Linked DNA regions of Homo sapiens: region 1 is linked to region 2. The links are contacts of gene promoters, found by promoter capture Hi-C in human tissues and cell types (Jung and others, 2019). All regions are on one chromosome and are shown on one strand. Each heading gives the region's core, a stretch centred on a gene start or on the middle of the fragment in contact. The rest is flanking DNA. Distances are from core to core; before and after follow the strand shown. Region 1 overlaps LOC105369715 (a long non-coding RNA gene). Region 2 holds the start of OVCH1 (ovochymase 1).

Region 1 (3,333 bases), core at 753-3,252, 500 kb after region 2:
AGACATGATATCTTCGTCTTTATAGCTCCTCTTCCTAACACTGCTGTTGACACTATTATGTTGAAATGAGTGTTCTAAATATAAGAATACACATATATAGGCATATTCCCACAAAGGTTTGTAAGTTGTTCATAATTCTCAGGAAACACAGCAAGTATAGGTGCCGGGCATTGTTGTGTTGCAAAATTCCAAGAGGCAATGCAGTTTGAGTTAGGGAAGTTGTGAATGGGGAAAGACAGAGGTGCCACACACTGAGGCCTAAAGAAAAAGCACAACCCTTGCTACAGCCCTTTTGCTATCCCTTCAAGTCAGTCCTGAAATGACCTGGGAGAACAGTGCCAGACAGAGAAAGTTGCAAATTGGCTCATCTCCACTGTGGACTAGGAATGCAGTGAGCTGAGATACATACATGAAAAGGGCACAGAGATGATTACTTTTCAAAGGTACATAAAACACTTAAGTTGAATAATACACGAATATTTCAGTATCACTAAATTCCTCACTGCGTTAAAATCTGTCATCCATTCAGCAATAGATGGTTTTGAACTTATCATTCTCATATTTCCAAATTGGCAAATATAAAAAGGGTTCTGCATGTTTACTTCCTTGATTTTCTTTATTTTAATTTTTTAATATTAGACTTAAAAATGTTGTGGGTACATAGTAGGTGTATACATTTATGAAGTACATGAGATGTTTGATACAGGCATGCAATGTAAAATAAGCACATCATGGAGAATGGGGGTATTTGTCCCAGCAAGCATTTATCCTTCGAGTTACAAACAATCTAATTACCTTATTTTATTTTAAAATACACAAATAAGTTATTATTGACTATAGTCATGCTATTGTGCTATCATATAGTGCCCAGTTCTGCATCTTTGTTTAGACAAAACTTTGCTAGTCACAGCACAGATTGTGCTGATAGTGGACTATTGATAAGCTTTACTTGGAGAATCGAATATTGCCACCTTTCGTTATCACTTCCGACATGCCAAGCACTGTGCCAATCACTCATATAAATGCAAGTAGGATTGTCCTTGGACTCACAGGTAAGGAAAGGAAGGCTTTTCTCTAAGAGGTTGGATGATTTATTCAAGGCCACAATCCAGCAAGTGAGAGGCCAGGATATGAAACTCAATCTGATGAATGTTACAGCCCCTGCCCTTAATTACCAGGAAGAGCATAATGTTCTCTAATGAGGTGCAGGAGGTGCAGCCACCCAAATGCTGCCAGAGGTTGCTGCTGGCAGGAGGGGGATGTGAAGCTTTCCTCGAGTAGAGGAACTCCCCTTCTCCAGACCTTTCTCAAGTCTCACAGAAGCATGTGTTTCATTTTGTCCTGTTTCCTGTGGAATTTTCCATCAGCAAGGACACAGAAATAGGAGGTTAGAACTTTCTCTGTCTGCACCTCCATGCTGAGGCCATCATTCTTGAAGGCAACACAAGGGAGGTCTTTTGGTCATTTGCAGCTGCTTCAGCTTGAAGGGCCCTGTTTGCCTTTTCCTGGGTATCAAGCCTTGGGATTTGCACTTCCAAAAATGCCCCTCCTGCCATCTCTCATGGTCTTCAATCTCTAGTTTCACCTCTTTGAGGCTGTCCCCTTTGCTCCCATAGGTTCCCATCCTTACCCCAGTTAGAGTCCCTACACACCATATCCAAATCACTGGTTCACTGATTTCCCTCAGCGGAATGGAAGTTCCTTGGGGTCATGATCTCTGTCTTCTTCACTGTCCTATCTCTGACACCTAGCACAGCGCCTGGCACTTCGTGTGAGTTCAGCAAATAATATTTCCTTTATGAATGAATGATTATTTCGTATTAACTGTTATCAGCTATTGAGGATCTGAGGAAGGAAGGATCAGAACTGGTAGGTGTTATTTTATGGAATAGGGAGAGGATGGTCATCAGGGAAGATTCAGGACACAAACTGCTATTAACACTAAAATCAAGGAGGAGCATTGCATCAGGTTTGGGGAGTCATAGGGCTAGGTTAGTGCAGAAAATGAGGTATTCTCCATAGTCATAGGATACATGGTGCCTGTTGTGATGGGGAGGAGGCAGCATGAGAAGGAATGGAATAACAGAAATCAAGAAGAAAATACTAGAAACAAATTTTAAACATAAAGTATATATATTCTCTCTGTCTCCCTATATAGGTATATATATAATATATATGAAAATAATCATATGTATACGATTATTGGCTCATGTGATTAGGAGGCCAAGAAGTCCCATGATCTGCCATCTACAAATGGAGAAAGCTGGTGGTATAATTCAGTCCAGGTCTGAAGGGAGAACTGGGGTTGGTGGTGGAGGTGGGATGTGCTTGTGTAAATCTTGGAGTCCAAAGGTCCAAGAACCAGGAGCTCCAACGACCAAGGGCAGGAGAAGATGATGTCCCAGCTCAAGAAGAAAGAGAAAATTTGCCCTTCCTCTGCCTTTTTCTTATATTCAGGCCCTTGAATGACTGGATAATGCCCATGTACATTGTAGAGGGCCATCTGCTTTACTCAGTCCACAAGTTCAAATGCTAATATCTTCTGGAAACACCACAGATACACCCAGAAAAAATGTTTTGCCAGCTATCTGGACATCCCTTAGCTTAGTCAAGTTGACATGTAAAATTAACTACCAAATTAGTTAATTTAATGAGACCATGTTTCTTAGACCTTTTACAATAAGGTAAGAACGATGGCAGTTTATATGTGTCATGCCCTGCCCTATTCTAAGTACTTTTATACATTCTGTTATCTTTATAACTCTGTGAACTATGTACTATCATTTCCAAATTGCAGATTAAAAATGGAGCACAGAGAGGCTGAATTATTTGATTGAAGTCACACGCTGGTAAGTGGTAGAACTGCAATTCCAACCCAGGGAGTTTGATTCTAAGTCTGTTCCCTGGCGCAGACTGAGATAGTCACAGTGGGAAATATAAAAGTAGATAATTTTGAGAACTACATGGGAGGAAAGAGTTTGGAATTGCTGTTGGTTGGATTTGAGGGGGCAAAGTGAAAAGGGCAGGCAAGAGGGAAGGATAGTTAATAAGAAAGAGGAAAAAATGAAAATGTTTTATTTTTGTTTACCTGGTATTTTGAAGATTGGAGAAAAAACATTTTCAAATTCTGTCATCTTATTTTACTCCAAACAAACGTAAGGGAATATAAACTATGACTGTAACTGGCTGGATACAGCAGTCATCACTGATGCTAGGAGATAACAAAACTAGCTTCTTGCTAATAAAAAATAAAGCTCCTTTCAGCTATGATTATAAATATATACTTTTACTTACATTGGGCATAGGTTAGGTTGGAAAATGTCCTCCTTTCCC
Region 2 (3,371 bases), core at 408-2,907:
ATTTCTGGGAATCAGGAAGATCAGTGGGTGGGTACACTGGGAGGCAAAAGTAAGAAAGGGACTGAGAATGAACCTGCTATTTAGAGCAACAAATCTGCCAGTCGCATAGCCAGGAATCAAGGCCTGACAAGTAATGGAAATCCACAACTTACTCACTGAGGCTGTCCAGGCAGTGTGCTGCTGTAACAACCCGATCTTCTTGAATCAAGCTTCCTCCACAGAAGTGGTGCTCATCTGATTTTAGGGAGACCTACCCAAGAAGAAAGTTACAAATGCAGCTAATATGTCTCCCCACATATGTATCTCCATCGGAAACACTGGAGATCAACTTTTCTAATCTGACATAATATTCTTAAAATACCGACATAAATTGGATAGTAAGATAGTTCCTACGAAGTAAACTTTTTGGTAGAGAGCTAGAGGGGTTCAGGAGAAAAACTACATATCAACGTGCATTCTTGCTTTCGAAACAAAGGAAATATTTCACTGTTTTCTCATTAAGAAATCAATGCCTTTGTTGCACTGACCTGCCATGGATGTCCAGTCACTGTTGAATTTCTCCAACTACTAATTCTAGAGAAGAATCTAGATCCCACGGCAGGTTCCTTACTTTTCATGTTGACCATGCGAATTCCACACTTCAGTCCTGTGTAGAAGAGCATGTGTGTGTGCACACACAGAGCCTTATGTAAGAGTTCACTTTACCAAGATTTCCCATTTGGATTTTCCTGGCCTGGCACAGACATTCTGATAGCACTTAGCTGCAGACTACCACATTCTTCTCTCAATATTTTCTTCAGAATATCCCACAGTCACCTGGGTTGACCGGAATTTGCCTCCTGTCTGCTCCCTTTCAGCCTGTGTTACCACTGGGCAGGAAGGAGCCAGCGCTGCCTCTGGTAGGTGACTTGGGGCTTACTCTGGGAAGATGCAAATTTAGGTTGTGTTAAAGATACCAGGAGCCACATGCAGTGGTTCCCGCCTGTAATCCCAGCACTTTGGGAGGCCCAGGTAGGCTGATCACTTGAACCCAGGAGGTCAGAACCATGGGCAACATGACAAGACCCCATCTCTACAAAAAAATGTAAAAATTAGCCAAGTGTGGTGGTACGTGCCTATGGTCCCAGCTACTCAGGAGGCAGAGGCAGGAGGATCACATTAGCCCTGGAGTTTGAGGGAGCCGTGATCGCATCACTGCAGTCCAGCCTGGGTGACAGAGCCAGACCCTGTCTCAAACAAACAAACAAAACAAAAGATACTGAGGAATGACCTATACTACTCCGGAAGGGAGATATTTGTCTTTAAGTTACTTCTACTTGGTTAGGTTTCCTTGGAGGAGGCTCCTTAGTACACACATGATTAGCAGGTGTGCCTACAAACGAACTCTAAAATGCAAAAAATTTCAAAAAGGCAGTCTGGCCCAGACCTTCCTTTGGGGACATCTGAGCATGCACCACCCCCTCACCCTTTCTTCCCAAATGCCTCAGGTGTGGCTATACCACCCCGACTTCCTGAGGCAAGGAGTAATGAAGTCTTCCCTCTCCAGCACGCTCAGCCTCCTCCGCAGTCCTGGTGCCCAGGTCCCTAGGCTCACCTAGGCTTCTGGGGTGGCCGATGACCAGCAACAGCAACAAACCAGCACTGGCCAGCAGGCCCATAGCCTCCACGCACCGGCCTCGCACGTCCTCCCTCCCTGCAGGCTGAGAAAACTGTGGTGAAGGCGGGGGTCTCGCCCTTTATCCCCTCCTGCGGTGCCTATGGGCAGCACCTGCCGTGGCGCCTTGGTTCGCAGGTGTCCCTCTTCACGATCATTTGATCATTGTGAGCTGCCGCCGCTCTCTGGTCACCCCTGGTGTCACAGTGCCCCGCCACCCAGCCTTAGAGACTGGCACGAGGTGGCCCAAGGGGTGACAGTGGTGCTCACACGTGTGCAGAGGTTCCTGCTAGCAGATCCACAGCAAGCCAATCAGTGGCCTGGAACGCTTAGCCCTGCGAATTCCCAGACTGGGGAGTGCGGTCCAAGCTCAGGGGCAATGAAGCTGGTCCCCCACACGAAACACAGGCAGGACTTCTGAAAGGCGGAGGGTCAGGAAGCTTAGTACAATACTGCCCCTTCTAAGAAGCTTGTTGCCCTTGACCCTCTAGAGTTTTCAAAGAGTGAATAGGAAAGATCAGGCTTGAGCTGACATCATTTTCTGGGTGGCAGTACTGTCCTCCATTTCAGCAGAATGGCCCCAAAACTGTAGGATCCATCATTTAAGATGATTAAAATTAATCTAGTGGTGAGATATCACTTTTTTTCCCATGAATATTATTTTGTAATAAGTTAAGCTGAAGTTAGAAGACAAAGCCAGAATTTGTAATGGTCTTATATTTTGTCAGAAAATTAAGGCAAGGCTAAGTGGACATTCCATATATATCAAATAACCTGGCCACCAGTCCTTCAGCACCAGTTGGAGGATTTTACGTTCAAGTGCTCTATTTTACTTTCATGTAAAATAGAAATAAAAGCTTCTTGAGGTAGGAGGGTACATAAACTAATGGGGGCAGGTGGGAGATGAGCAGGTAGATGGGAAAACAGAAGGCAGTCAAGGTGGAGAGAATGCAGGCACAGGTACAAGCAGGTGACAATCTACTGGGGACAATGACCTCTGTGACTGCAGGAGAGAGCAGAGGGTAAATGGACACCATTTGAAGAAAAGACTAAAAAAAGTGAATGATGCCTGTCGCTGTGGCATCTTCAAAAGGTGTCCATTTACCCTCTGTGGCTAGTGGCTACCATATTGAACAGCACAAATACAGAACATTCTGTCATCACCAATAGTTTTATGGGACTGTGCTGTTCTTGAGAGTAGCACTATTTTCTTTTGAGTATTTATTTCAAGGAAAGACACCTCGGATGACAGTTTGAGTAGATGACTCCTTAGTTTCATGCCTGGGTGTCTAGGGGATAGGGGGTGTCCAGCATGCTCTTAAGGTAAGCAGCTCTTCTGTGAAAATAAAACATTGAACCTCCAGGCTTCAGTACTGTCCAGGGAATGTCCAGATGTGTGGCTACCTGAACAGTGGCCCTCACCACTTTCCTCCCTGTAGTCATCACACAGGGGTGACCATTTGAACCACCATGCCAGCTCCAGGGCCACACCGTTCTCCAATAAAAGCTCAGAGCCCCCACATGGACCCAAAGCCCTCTTTCTTTTTAGCAAGAGGTAAGATGAAACCCACCAAAAAGCCTTTACTAAACAAAAGGGTAAGGACTAGAAGGTGAACATGTGCTGTGCAAGAACGGTCAGGCCAGCAATATTCAAGTTGCTGGTCAAACCATGGCCAGCCCTTCCGTGAGGCTCACAGGTGCTGTCCCCTTTCACTCT

Evidence for each region. The method cuts DNA at HindIII sites, captures the fragments that hold promoters and counts their contacts. A contact is called where the count stands out against the background at its distance.
Region 1: a fragment that was not itself captured here is called in contact with the fragment with the promoter of OVCH1 in region 2 in 2 of the 25 tissues and cell types used here (IMR-90 fibroblasts and heart left ventricle).

Annotation. Positions count from the first base shown.
Region 1 is chr12:29,996,886-30,000,218 of GRCh38, forward strand. All of the region lies in intron 3 of LOC105369715 (a long non-coding RNA gene), which reads right to left. Among named protein-coding and RNA genes, the nearest start is that of TMTC1, 210 kb to the left of the region's middle. The HindIII fragment of the contact is 5,873 bases long and covers 1-3,333 here.
Region 2 is chr12:29,496,029-29,499,399 of GRCh38, forward strand. OVCH1 (ovochymase 1) reads right to left here and starts at 1,658. Exons shown (of 26, transcript NM_001353179.2): 1 at 1,595-1,658; 2 at 528-646; 3 at 153-250. The coding sequence starts at 1,658. The HindIII fragment of the contact is 2,638 bases long and covers 1-2,317 here.